2 separate regions of the Homo sapiens genome follow, and region 2 is linked to region 1. Evidence: promoter capture Hi-C in 16 types of primary human blood cells and fetal thymus (Javierre and others, 2016). All regions are on one chromosome and are shown on one strand. Each heading gives the region's core, a stretch centred on a gene start or on the middle of the fragment in contact. The rest is flanking DNA. Distances are from core to core; before and after follow the strand shown. Region 1 holds the start of APLP2 (amyloid beta precursor like protein 2). Region 2 overlaps LOC399975 (a long non-coding RNA gene).

What was found. Contacts are between HindIII fragments. The CHiCAGO score rates a contact against its expected background, and 5 or more counts as called.
Region 2: a fragment that was not itself captured here is called in contact with the fragment with the promoter of APLP2 in region 1 in 1 of 17 cell types (fetal thymus); the score reaches 5.9 in fetal thymus.

Annotation. Positions count from the first base shown.
Region 1 is chr11:130,068,512-130,074,597 of GRCh38, reverse strand. It overlaps APLP2 (amyloid beta precursor like protein 2), which reads right to left and starts at 4,704. Exons shown (of 17, transcript NM_001142276.2): 1 at 4,516-4,704. The coding sequence starts at 4,620. It overlaps LOC107984432 (a long non-coding RNA gene), which reads left to right and starts at 4,949. Exons shown (of 2, transcript XR_001748444.2): 1 at 4,949-5,134; 2 at 5,485-6,086. RefSeq lists silencers at 3,816-4,275, 4,346-4,475, 4,866-5,095 and enhancers at 5,012-5,512, 5,513-6,013. The HindIII fragment of the contact is 4,769 bases long and covers 3,263-6,086 here.
Region 2 is chr11:129,271,154-129,277,162 of GRCh38, reverse strand. All of the region lies in intron 1 of LOC399975 (a long non-coding RNA gene), which reads left to right. It also overlaps a transcript of ARHGAP32 not described here. Among named protein-coding and RNA genes, the nearest start is that of ARHGAP32, 82 kb to the right of the region's middle. The HindIII fragment of the contact is 3,037 bases long and covers 1-2,909 here.

The DNA of each region.
Region 1 (6,086 bases), core at 3,455-5,954:
AATTCTTCTTCTGTTATTTTAGAAAGAAAATCCAAAAGCCTCAAAATTTAGTAAGGGTAAACAGAATTAAACAATCTTGAAAGGGGCCAGGTGTGGAGGCTCACGCCTGTAATCCCAGCACTTTGGAAGGCCAAGGCAGGCAGATCACAAGGTCAGAAGTTTGGAACCAGCCTGGCCAATATGGTGAAACCCTGTCTCTACTAAAAATATAAAAATGAGCCAGGCATGGTGGTGGGCTCCTGTAGTCCCAGCTACTCTGGAGGCTGAGGCAGGAGAGTCGCTTGAACCTGAAAAACGGAGGTTGCAGTAAGCCGAGATCATGCCAGTGCACTCCAGCCTGGGCGACAGAGTGAGACTCCAACTCAAAAAAGAAAAACAAAACAACAACAACAACAACAAAACATGTTTTCAAATGCTATAAAGAACATGATTGGGTCAACAAACTAACTAGAAAACCGACAGCAGATAAGATCCAAGTATTGTATCAATGTTAAATTTCATTAGGTTGATGGCTGTACTAAGCCTATGTAAGACAATGTCTTTGGCTCTTAGAAAATATATACTGAAGTTCTCAGGGGTAAAGGGGATGGGGGACGACGTATGCAACTTACTCTCAAATAATTTGGCAAAAAATGCAGTAGTAAAGCAAATGTGACTAGAAGAAATGTTAACAATTGGTGAATCTGAGTAAAGGGTAAGAAAATTGTACAATTTTTGCATTTTTTATAAGATTAAAGTTATTTCTTTTTTTTATTCTTGTTTTCTTGAGATGGAGTCTCGCTCTGTTGCCCAGGCTGGAGTGCAGTGGTGTGATCTCGGCTCACTGTAACCTCCACCTCCCAGATTCTCCTGCCTCAGCCTCCTGAGTAGCTGGGATTACAGGCGCACGCCATCTCGCCCAGCTAATTTTTGTATTTTTAGTAGAGACGGAGTTTCACCATGTTGCTCAGGCTGGTCTCGAACTCCTGACCTCGTGATCCACCCACCTCGGCCTCCCAAAGTGCTAGGATTACAGGCGTGAGCCACCGCGCCTGGTGATTAAAGTTATTTCTAAGTAAAACATTTTTAATTGAAAAAGTTTAAAAATCAACACATTCAAAATTGTTCTAACAAAAATACTTAAGAGCATGTTGGGCCAACTTCCAGCAAGACTTTATGTGGAAAAATATAGGAACATATTAAAAAATTCTGCTAATAAAAACATATGCAGGACCAACTTTAAGCAAAATTTTAAATCAGCACCATCTAACAGAAATACAATGTGAGCCACATACATAGTATTAAATTTTCTAGGAACCATATTAGAGTGAAAAGAAACAAGTGAAATTAATTTTAATGTTTTATTTAGCCCATGTCTAAAGTATTGTTTCAATTTAGTCAATACAAAAATTGAGATTTTAATTCTTCTGTATTAAATCTTCAAAATCTGATGTGTATGTTACACTTCCAGTACATCTCAATTCAGAAGCTAAATTTTCATAGGAAATACTTGATCTACATTTAGATTTCATAAAATGTACAGTTTAAAAGTAAATTCGCATAACCAAATTATTTCAGTTAAAAGTTTTCCAACCACTGAATCAGATTTTAAATGTAAACTTAAATTAATTAAAATTAAATAAAATGAAAAATTCACTCCTCATTCACACTAGTCACCCTACAGACTCAATAACCACATGTGGCTTGTGGCTACACCCTGGGAAAGCCTGGCTTTAGATGGTAAAACAAATTCCCTCTACAAAAGGAGGAACTAATTGATAAAACTGAAGTTTATCGTATTTATCAAAAGATTTTTAAAACATAGTTATGATAAAAATAACGGGCCGGGCGCTGTGGCTCACGCCTGTAATCCCAGCACTTTGGGAGGCCGAGGCAGGTGGATCACCTGAGATCAGGTGTTCCAGACCAGCCTGGCCAACATGGTGAAACCCTGTCTCTACTAAAAATACAAAAATTAGCTGGGCGTGGTGGCAGGCGCCTGCAATCCCAGCTACTTGGGAGTCTGAGGCAGGAGAATCGCTTGAACTCGGAAGGCGGAAGTTGCAGTGAGCCCAGAGATCCCACCATTGCACTCCAGCCTGGGACAGAGCGAGACTCCGTATCAAAAAAAAAAAAAAAAAAAAGACGATATTCCTATCAGAAGCACACCAAGGTTTCTCTCCAAGGTACAATTACACATCTCCCATACCACCTGTCAGAAACACCAACACAAAGCCTTCTCTACTCTGCCTCAGTTGACATCCTTTAATTTGGGTTTGAGTTTCCAGAAAACTGGCAATCAAATGGCCTTCTTTCTTTCAAATGTGACAGAACAAACTCAAGTTCCGGTTCTCAGGAGCCTAGTCATCCACTGCACAGTATGCGGGGTTTCAGCACAATACTGTCTCAGTCCCAAATGGGAGCATGCACACAGGAGAACTTGTCTCGGATTTAAGAGAGGAAGTGACCCTGAGTCCAGAGGTGAGCTTTTTCTTTTTAAACAGGTGTAAGAGATTAATTCAGTCAACACCAAGCAACACTAAAGATTTGCCAATCAATAATTCTGTGCCAAGCAACTTGATCAGGGATTTGGCCAGAATCCCTTTCGCTAATCTCAATCAGGGCCTTCCCAAAGACATCCTGATTTAGGCCACTCTCATCTAAATTAAGCTTCGACAGTCCCTTGCCTGACAGCAAATAAACAAAATCAAATTATATTCATATGAATAAAATTCTGATAGCTTGACAAAAGGCCCCTTGAAAGATCATTTAGTAAGTGTGAGCAAAAATACAGCTCCAAAGAACAGGAGTTACCATAAAACCATTTTTCAGAAATGTTTAATTCCTACTTTCTTCAACCATACTTTTCAACTGAACAACGCTGTGGCTAACAATCAAATTTAACACACAACAATGAATTCTCATATTATTTTTTCCCGCTACACAAGTATTAACGAATTCTTTAAAACTGCTGAGTCTTCTACTGTGAATTCACTAATGCCTCAAATTAGTCATAGCAGTGGGAAGTGGAGTGCGAGTGTGAACGATGGTTTCTGACACCCGACCCACTAGTGAAGTCCCATCTTCCATACGAAAGCCTTTATTTTTTCTTCCCATCTCACTCACCTAGCTGTTTTCATGCGACATATCAGGGATCACAGATACAACTCTGACCATTGTGTGGACACACTGAAACAATCGCAATCCAAAATCCTCTGTAGATAAACGTTAACTATTTCTCTTTAAAGCTGAACTCCTTTCTTACCCTCACAGTCACAAAGCTTTAAACTGGATGAATACAAAGGTGTTAAGCCGTTCCATCAGAGAGGCTTTTTATTAGATTTATTTTTACCCGTGGAAATACTTGAACATTCTGTAGAAGTAAATATATTCTAAACCTGAGGTCTTTAAAAGAAAGCTCTCAATTAATGCCCAATCAAATCCAGTCTTCAGGTCTCTCTGAAATTAGCTAAGTATGCAGAAACCAGTTGTAATTTTTAAAAGAGCGAAGAGGGAGAAGAAATAAACGACACCAGAACTACACATTCCAGACCAGCAGTTCAAGCACCACTTCGAGAAGGGAAGTAAAGATCAAGCTCGCCGTCTCCCTCGGCCACAGCAGGGCTCCTCCAAGGCTGCCCGCTCCGGCCCGCACCGCGGACCCCGCCGCCCCCGCCCCCTCCCGCGGCCTCCCCAACCCCCGGCCCTGCCGCTTCGCCTTTCTCGCAGCGGGGATGCTCAGGGTGCGACCTCGAAGCACAACCACTGATGGAATTCTGACACCCGAAGAGGACGATTTTTCCAACAGTTTACACGCCTTCGCGGGCACCTTCCCTACTCACTGAAACCCTCACGAAAGCGGTCAACGCACCCAGAGCGGGTTTCCTCGGTCTACGGACGCAGGCAAACAGCGCCACTTAAAAAATGCGCGTCCGCGACCCGGCCCCAGGCGGCAGAGGGAGCAGCGGGCGGCCTGGCGCGGGAGCTCCCCCGGGGCTCGCAGCATCCCTGCCGCGCGCGAAGGCCGGGGCCGCGTCCACCTGGCAACAAAGGCGAAGCCCGCCGCTCGCAGGTGGGAGGCCCGGAGCCGAGGCCCCGGTGCCGCGCGAGGGAGCGTACGGGGTCCGCGCGGGGCCGCCCCTGGAGAAAGCCCAGCCGCGGACTCCGGCGGGAGAGGAGCGCCCTGGCATTGTCCCGGGGGAGGGCGGGGCGGGCGCCCGGGGGCACTGGGTCCCCGGAGGAGGTGGCGGCGCCGCGGGCGGGTTGGGGGCTGGGTCGGCCGAGGCGGACGGCCGCCCCCAGCAGCCCCGACGCCTTTCATTTGGCCTCTGCGGCGGCTGAGGCAGCCCGACCTCCAGCGCTAAGCACTGCGCCAAGCAGGGACGGGCGGGGGAGGGCGCGCCAGACCCGCCGCAGAGCCGGACCCCCGGCGCCGCACCGCCGGCCCGCCCTGCCGCGGACCCCGCTGCCCGCCCGCAGTCCGCGCTCCTCCGGCGGGCGAAGGAGACGACTCTCCGGCGTTCGCCCGGTCCCCACCTCGATGTAGCCGGCCAGCGCCAAGGCAGGCGCCGTGAGCCCCACCAGCAGCAGAAGCAGGAGCCTGCCCGTGGCTGCGGCGGCCGCGGTCCCGGTGGCCGCCATCCCTCGCCGGGTCGCTCTAGCGCGCGGCTCTCAAGCTCACACACTCGGACTCCTCGCTTAGCACACCGCGACCCAGAAGCATCTAAAGCCAGTTCGCCGCCGCCCCGGGGGTTTTACACCAACCGGAACTGACTTCATATTACCACGCCCTCCTTCTGCGGCTCCCAATGCCGGCCCGCAGAACCCCTCAAGACCCCGCCCCCTTGCGGTCCAGACCCAATCAGGAGATGGAAGAGCCTGCTCCTCCCGCCCGGTCCAACCGCGCGCCCCCCGCCCGGCCCCGCCCCCGGCCGCGGATGGCCCCGCCCCCGCTCCGGACCCTGTGGCCGCCAGGCGCGGGGGCGTGCGCGCGGCGGGTCTGGGGCCGCAACCCTGTGGGCGCGGGGCTGGCTCTGGCCTCCGCCCCCCGGCGCGGTTATCTGTCCCTGCTGCGCTGGTCCGTCAGCCTTCAGCCTCCCGATACGGGCACGCCCCGCTCCCCTGCCCCTGCTGGGCATTCTTCAGACTCCTTTGGGTACCGCCCTCTTTTTGATTCTGGAAATGGTTTTATTAAAAACAGGATGAATTAGGAGTCCGGGACGGTCTGCCAAGGGCCGTCCCCCGAGGCAGGGGGAGGACCGCAGGAGGCAGCCATCGTCCTCCCCCGAGCCCTACTCAGGGCGCGCCTCTCCCGCCCTGCTCCGCCCAGGCCTCTCCGCCGGGTCCTCGCCTCTGAGTCCGGCCGCGCTCCGCACCCTTGGCCTCCGGTCTTTAGGCCTCTTGCCGACCCTTCCTTCCCAGCAGTTGCCCAGGCAGGGATAGAGACCAGGGGTGCAAGAACCACGCCGGCCTCACAGCCCAGGCCCCCTTCCTCGTGTGTTTTAGGAAGAGATCACGCCGCTTCTTCGGTTGAGACGCACTAGCGGGAGACCTGCTACTCTGCCTTCCTGCTCCGCGGCATTGCCACTTCAGTAGAGAAAAACGTCCTGCTGCCCCATTTAGCAATTGGCACAGCCTCGCCACCGCCAGGGCTCCGCTGGCCTTGTTTCCTTTCAGTCGCCTGTGAGTTAGGTACTGCCTTCTGAGAGACCTGGACTAGTCCCTTCAGGTTCAACTAAATGCATAACACAACCCTACCCCCAGGACGCTGACAATAGAAAGGAAGAGACTGTCCGCGGAGTAGACGAGTGCGCCTGTAAGAACTCGGGATTTTCCAGCCTTATTCTGCACCACTCTCCCCTACATGCCCAGTTCCCTGTGGGTAAACTGGCTCTGCCCGATTCCTCCAAGACGACACCTTTCCATTTCACAGCCCTTCCTAACACTCTTCTGCGCCTGCAATGTCCTCTCCCCAACATCTGCCTGTTGGAAGCGTTTTCACTGTTCCTCGGCTCAGTCGGCTGAAATATCGCTTCTGATTGCTCAGAGGGATGTTTCCCACTGTGGCACTCGCTCCCTAGTTATTCCATACCTCTCTCAGGTCACTG
Region 2 (6,009 bases), core at 142-2,641, 790 kb after region 1:
CAAGCTGACCTGAGTATATTATCTGCACACTGTATGTTGATCGTAGACGCATGTAATAAATGTTAAGGACTAGGCATCTGTTTTCTTCATAAGGCTGTGGTAGCAGAAGAATGAAACAAAAAGGAACTTAACATAGTTGAACTTTTAAAGAGTAAGACTAATATTCTTGAGAATTTTTCGGATTTAACCCATGATTGTGAAGTCCAATGTCCATGGAAGTAGTCAGGAGGCAGCAAGGACTTGAAGTTAGGTTGTGGTTGCAGTTCTGCCCCATAGTAGCTGTGTGACAGCGTACCTTCCTTGGACAAGTTATTTACATTTCTGAGCTTGTTTGCATTTTATAAAATAGGGATCAGAAGGCTTGCATTGTTTTTCTTACAGAGCTGTGAAGGATCAGATGATAGAAAGGATATGAAAATGCTCTGCAGAACTGTTTTTAAATATGTAAAGTATTGTCATTACGTATAAACTTAGTTACTAACCTATGTTACCTGGTAAATTGGCCTAGCAAACTCTTTTAAATGTTGTAACAGAAATTTAAAAAACATGCATATAAAGGCTGGGCAGGGTGGCTTACACCTCTAATCAAATGCTTTGGCAGGCAGAGGTGGGAGGATCCCTTGAGGCCAGGAGTTTGAGACCAGTCTGGGCAGCATAGAGAGGCCCAGTCTTTACAGAAAATCAAATAAAAACCATTAGCTGAGTGTAGTGGCACACACCTGTAGTCCTGGCTACTCGGGAGGTTGAGATGGAAGGATCACTTGAGCCCAGGAATTAGGGGTTACAGTGAGCTATCATTGTGCCACTGCCCTTGAGCCTGGTCAACAGAGTGAGATCCTGTCTCAAAACAACAACAACAACAACAAAAACAGATAAGGAATGAGAACGTGTTAGATTTCTTCTAGTTCCAAAATTCTGTGCTCTGTCTTATTTAGAAAATCCACCGGTAGTACTTGCAATTTTGAACTCTCTGGAATTTTCAATTACTTGGAGACAGATCAAATTTATTGAGACTGTGAGCTACTGCTGCTGCTGCTTTTTAAAATTTAATAGAGTCAGGGTCATGCTATGTTGCACAGGCTGGCCTCCAAATTCTGGGCTGAAGCGATCTTCCTGCGTTGCCCTCCTGAGCAGCTGGGACTACTGGCCTGTGCCAAGGCTGGACAAGACTTTGAACTTCTTTAAAGTATCAGTTCACAATACCAAAGGAGGTTACAAGTTAATGATTTGTAAGAACTGTTTAGTAAAAAATATTTTAAATTTGTCTGCATTATTTAGGGAAGGGATGGGCAAACTGTAGCCTGCAGGCCATATCTGGCCCATGGCTAAGAATGATTTTTATATTTTTAAATGGTTGAAAACAATCCAAAGAAGGATAAAATTTCATGTCATGAGAATGATATAAAACGCAAATGTCAGTGTCCTTCAGTAAAGTTTTGTAGGAACACAGTCGTTCATTCTTGGGTCTGTGGCTACTTTGGCAGTGCAGCAGCAGAGTGGAGTACTTTCATAGCTCGGCCTGCAGAGCCTCAAGTATTTATTATCTGGTTCTTTAAAAGAAAAGTTTTCCAACCCCCGATTTAGGACTTAACTTTTTTTTTTACTTTAATTAGCATATGTGCTATTTCCTATCATAGCCATTATAAGGTTAAGAATCCTGGAAAGGTACTAATTTTTGTTTTGGAGCCAGATAGACTTGAGTTCACATACCAGCTATGATATTTATAAACATTGATCCTGGACAAACTAATTAATGTCGTGGGACCTCAGAGATTTCCTTTGTGACCAGGGAATATCAGTAGTATCTACCTTGGAAGGTTGTAGTGAGGATTAAATGAAATGGTACATATTAAGGCTTAACACAATCTCTGACATACAGTAAGCACTCAGTAAGTGATAGATGATGATGATTAGAAACTCTAACCTGAAAGTATGCCTAAAATATTTTATATTACCATCACCTCCAGATTATAGAGTTATTTTCCTGAGTGTTATGCTGTTTGCTATAGAATTTTCTCCTTTGCTGAAACTTAGTTAACAGCTGATAAGCGGAATAACTTGAGAAATTTCCTGTATGCTGTAGTGTATTTTTATTAATCACTTGCTGACTTCAGATCATTAAGAATGGGTGGAAAGATACTTCTGTTTTTTATAGATCCTGATTCTTGATAATTTCCCGATAATGTTCTTAAGTTTATAAATTGGATTTAAATACCACTTCTATTTTGGTACTGGTACTGGCTTTTTTTTTTTTTTAGAAAGATGAATGAGAAAAGTCGGTTTTGATTAGGCCAGGGTTGGATAATTTTCCCCATATGTATATGTACTCTAAAGTCTTCCTTATGATTTGCATTAACATCTTTATGGCATGCTTCTCAGAGTTGAAATAATAAAAGCTAATTTTTTTTTTCTAAATAGATCTAGTTTACTATCCAGAGACTTTTATATTACACTGCTTTTTGAAGTATTTGATTTAAATTATCTTACAGTTGAGAAATTTGGTGTGCCTCTCAACTTCAAATGCTGGTTTATTAACATTAATCTCAAACTAAGAGTGAGCAAATAAAAAAGGCCATTGTTCTGAGTTAAACAAAATAGAATTGGGGTCATTGTGGCTCTTGCAGTTCTACAAACTGTACAGTTTCTTGGCCTTAGCTGATGCTTCAGTGAAGTGAGATGATCCAGAGGAGACAGGGGAGGGCACTGATGTTCCCACGCTGTCCTCGGTGGAACAGTGAGATGGAGGCAGAAGGGCTCTTCCACAAAACCAGGGAACAGCACCTGGAAAGGTGTTCTGATTATAGCACCTCAAAAAAAGTAGACCTAAAGAAGATGAGATGCGACAGAGTTTTCTCTTGAGGTTAAAAAACAAACCAAACCAGACGTTTCCTATCTGGAGAGATGAAGCTTGAGCAGGAATATTCCCCAAGGTAGTAAAGTGTAAGGATTTTATAAAGTAGATATTTTCAGTTTTACTGGACAAGGGAGGGCTAGTCTTGTATTTAAAGGAGATTGTTGTAGGACAAGTAAGAGGAAGTGAGAAATGGGTGTTTGGTTTAATTTCTCATGAGAAAAACATGAATCTGAATGTTCAGAATAGAAGTAAAATTCTGGCTTTCAAAACACAGTTGTTTTTTTTTTTTTGCTTCCGGCTATGTATCTATTTACTATTTTATTTTATATCCTGGATTATAATATACATAATATTGGAGGCTGTGGAGATGGAAAGCATTGAGAGGAAAAGCATGTGTGAACCATTCATTATGGAAATGTTATGTCCAATTTGTCTCTGTTTGAAAAGATAAGCATCATACTCTAGGAGAGAATCTTCTAGAAAATTCTATCAGTTTGCCCTAAAAATAGTAAAATCCTTATTTGGATTTCAGCCTTGTGATGTGAAGCAAGCCATTTGACTCCACTGCTTTTATTCCCTGTGTGTAGCATGGAAACAGTAATTCCTGTTCCTCCTTTCATTGGAGAAATATAGGTGGTTGAAGGACTCTTAAGATGAGTAGCATCTTCAGTAGCTGTGCAGAATATATCATGTGAAGTTCAGTAATTACCCAGGATATCAAACACAGACCAAAAAAGTGAAGCAACTTTTAACAGGAAAATGAGTTTTGAACCTGGAGTCAAGAGGACCTGGATGTTTGTCTTGGCTCTGTTGTAAACAGCTTGTGACTTTGGACAAGTAATTTCTGTCTCCAAAGGTCCAGTTTCCATTGACCTACCTAAGGAGAATCTGACAGACCTTCCTTCTTGTTTTATATTCAGTGGCCCTCCAGATTAAGTAGGAATAGCAATCCTGACACAGTAGGATAAGGGAAACCACATCTCTTTGTATCTGTGAACTGACAAGTATCCACTGAGTACATCTGTGTGTCTCCTGCCATGCTTCAAGCAGTGGAAGATAGATAGGTAAGAAGGTGTCATTGAGTCTTTGCCCTCAGGAGGTGTTCATTTCATGGGGAGACAAACTATTTTATGAAAAGGAATATTATAAGTAAGCAAGGAGATAGTGGAATGATCTGGCAGTTTGAGGACTTGTGATGTACTATTGGAGAGGATACTTTGTAGCCTTGTGACCTTGAACATGTAAAATGGGCTTTGTAGACTCCCTCCAACTCTGAAATTTGGTCATTCTGTCTTTGATGGAGAAGCAGCAGCTCTGAATCAACCTGTTGGTAGACAACCCAAGTAAGAACTGCTCAATTAAAGCCAGATTTTTACACACATTCTGCGTAATTGATTTAGTAGATGGAAGGAAAGGTTTACTTTAATTTACTAGAAATGCAATCAACGGATAACCCTTCTGAAAAATAAAGCGTGCGAGAAGTGACAAGAGACCAAAGTGAGCTTGTTCCTGAGGCAGTACATTTGTGCCTGGATCTCATTTCTTCTTGCCTACAGGTCTTCTATTCTAGCAGTTTTCTTTCCTAAGATATCATTCTCTCTTTACTGAATCCTCTTTCAGTTAGCATCCATGCCTTTTGTTACTTGCAGCAGTGATAGCTAGTTGTCTACCCAATGCCATTCTCTGTGGCTTCCTTTTAGTATATAGGATCCTCAGGGTTTATCTGGGCACATGTTGGCCCAGCTAGAAACTGCATTTCCTAGCTTCTCTTTTATAGTTGGATGTGGACTAAATTCTGGCTAAATGGATGTGGACATAAGTGGTATGTGTGATTTCTGGGTTGTAGCCTTAGAAAGGAAGCTAATCGTTTTCTATTTTCTCTTTATCCCCTTTTGCAGATGAGAGTGTAGGATGTTAATGCACTGATGGGGCATATTATTCAACCTGCAAAGGTGAGGGCAATACCTTAGCGGGGGATGGATGAATAAGATGGATTTTTAGATGATCTTGTGGAGCAGAACTGCCTCCTAGCCTTGTACTTCTCATTTATCTTTGGGTGGTTAGGTGAGAGAGGAATAAAGTTTTATCTCTTGAGCTACTGATGCCTTAAATGAATAAATCACACCTTTTAAACCACCTTTACCTTGGGATCCCCTTCATTTACATTTATTGTCCTTTTTTTGTTTCCTTTTGCAGCAGAAATTTCAAGAGTTGTTTATATTTGCTGTACCTTCTTCTTCACCAGTGATTCTTTAGCCTGATCATTTGAGCTCATCATATGAATTACTCTTCCTGCCAGTGACTTCTTCCTCTCTCTCCCCCAAGTCTTTACCATTTCAGTAAGTGGCATCATCAGCCACCACTTGTGCAGGCCAGAACCCCTGGAGTCATCCTTATCCTTGATTTCTTTTTTTAATTGCACTCCAATGAAATTGTTTTTAATCAAGACTGCAGTGACCTGGATCTTGCCAAAGCTAGTGGTCAGTTCAATGTTTGTATCTTATTTGACCTCTCTCACCAGCATTTCACAGTGGCCAACTTTACTAGTTTTGACCTCTTAGTTGTTCATTCTCATTTTCTATATGCTTTTGCCAGTTTATCTCTACTTTCCCACTCCTTGAAAATTTGGAATGTCCCTCAGGTGATTTCATCCAATTTTTGGTTTCAAATACCATTTATATGCCGATGAGGCTCAAATTCTTATTTCTAGTACTGACTTTTTTCCCCCTTGCGCTCTAGACTCTTGTAACTCCATGCCTCTCCTTGGATGTCTAATGGATACCTCAAAGGCAGCATGAACAAAGGAGGGCTATGAATTACTCTTCCTGTTGGTGACTTCTTCCTCTACCTCCCCCAAGTCTTTACCATCTCAGTAAGTGGCATCATCATCCACCACTTGCGCAGGCCAGAACCCCGGATTCTTCCTCCTCCTTGATTTCTTTTTTTCCTCCTCATCTCATGTTAAGTCTGGTCACCTCCACCTTTATAATATAAACCGAACCTGACTACATCTCACTTTTTTCACTGGCAAAAACCTAGGCTAGGCTAGGCTAGTAGGCTTTGTCGTCTGGCAAACTGCCAGCAGACTTCCCTGCTTCTACTCCTGTCCTTGTCCTTCCCCTCATTCTTACCATACACGGGAGCCAAAATAATGT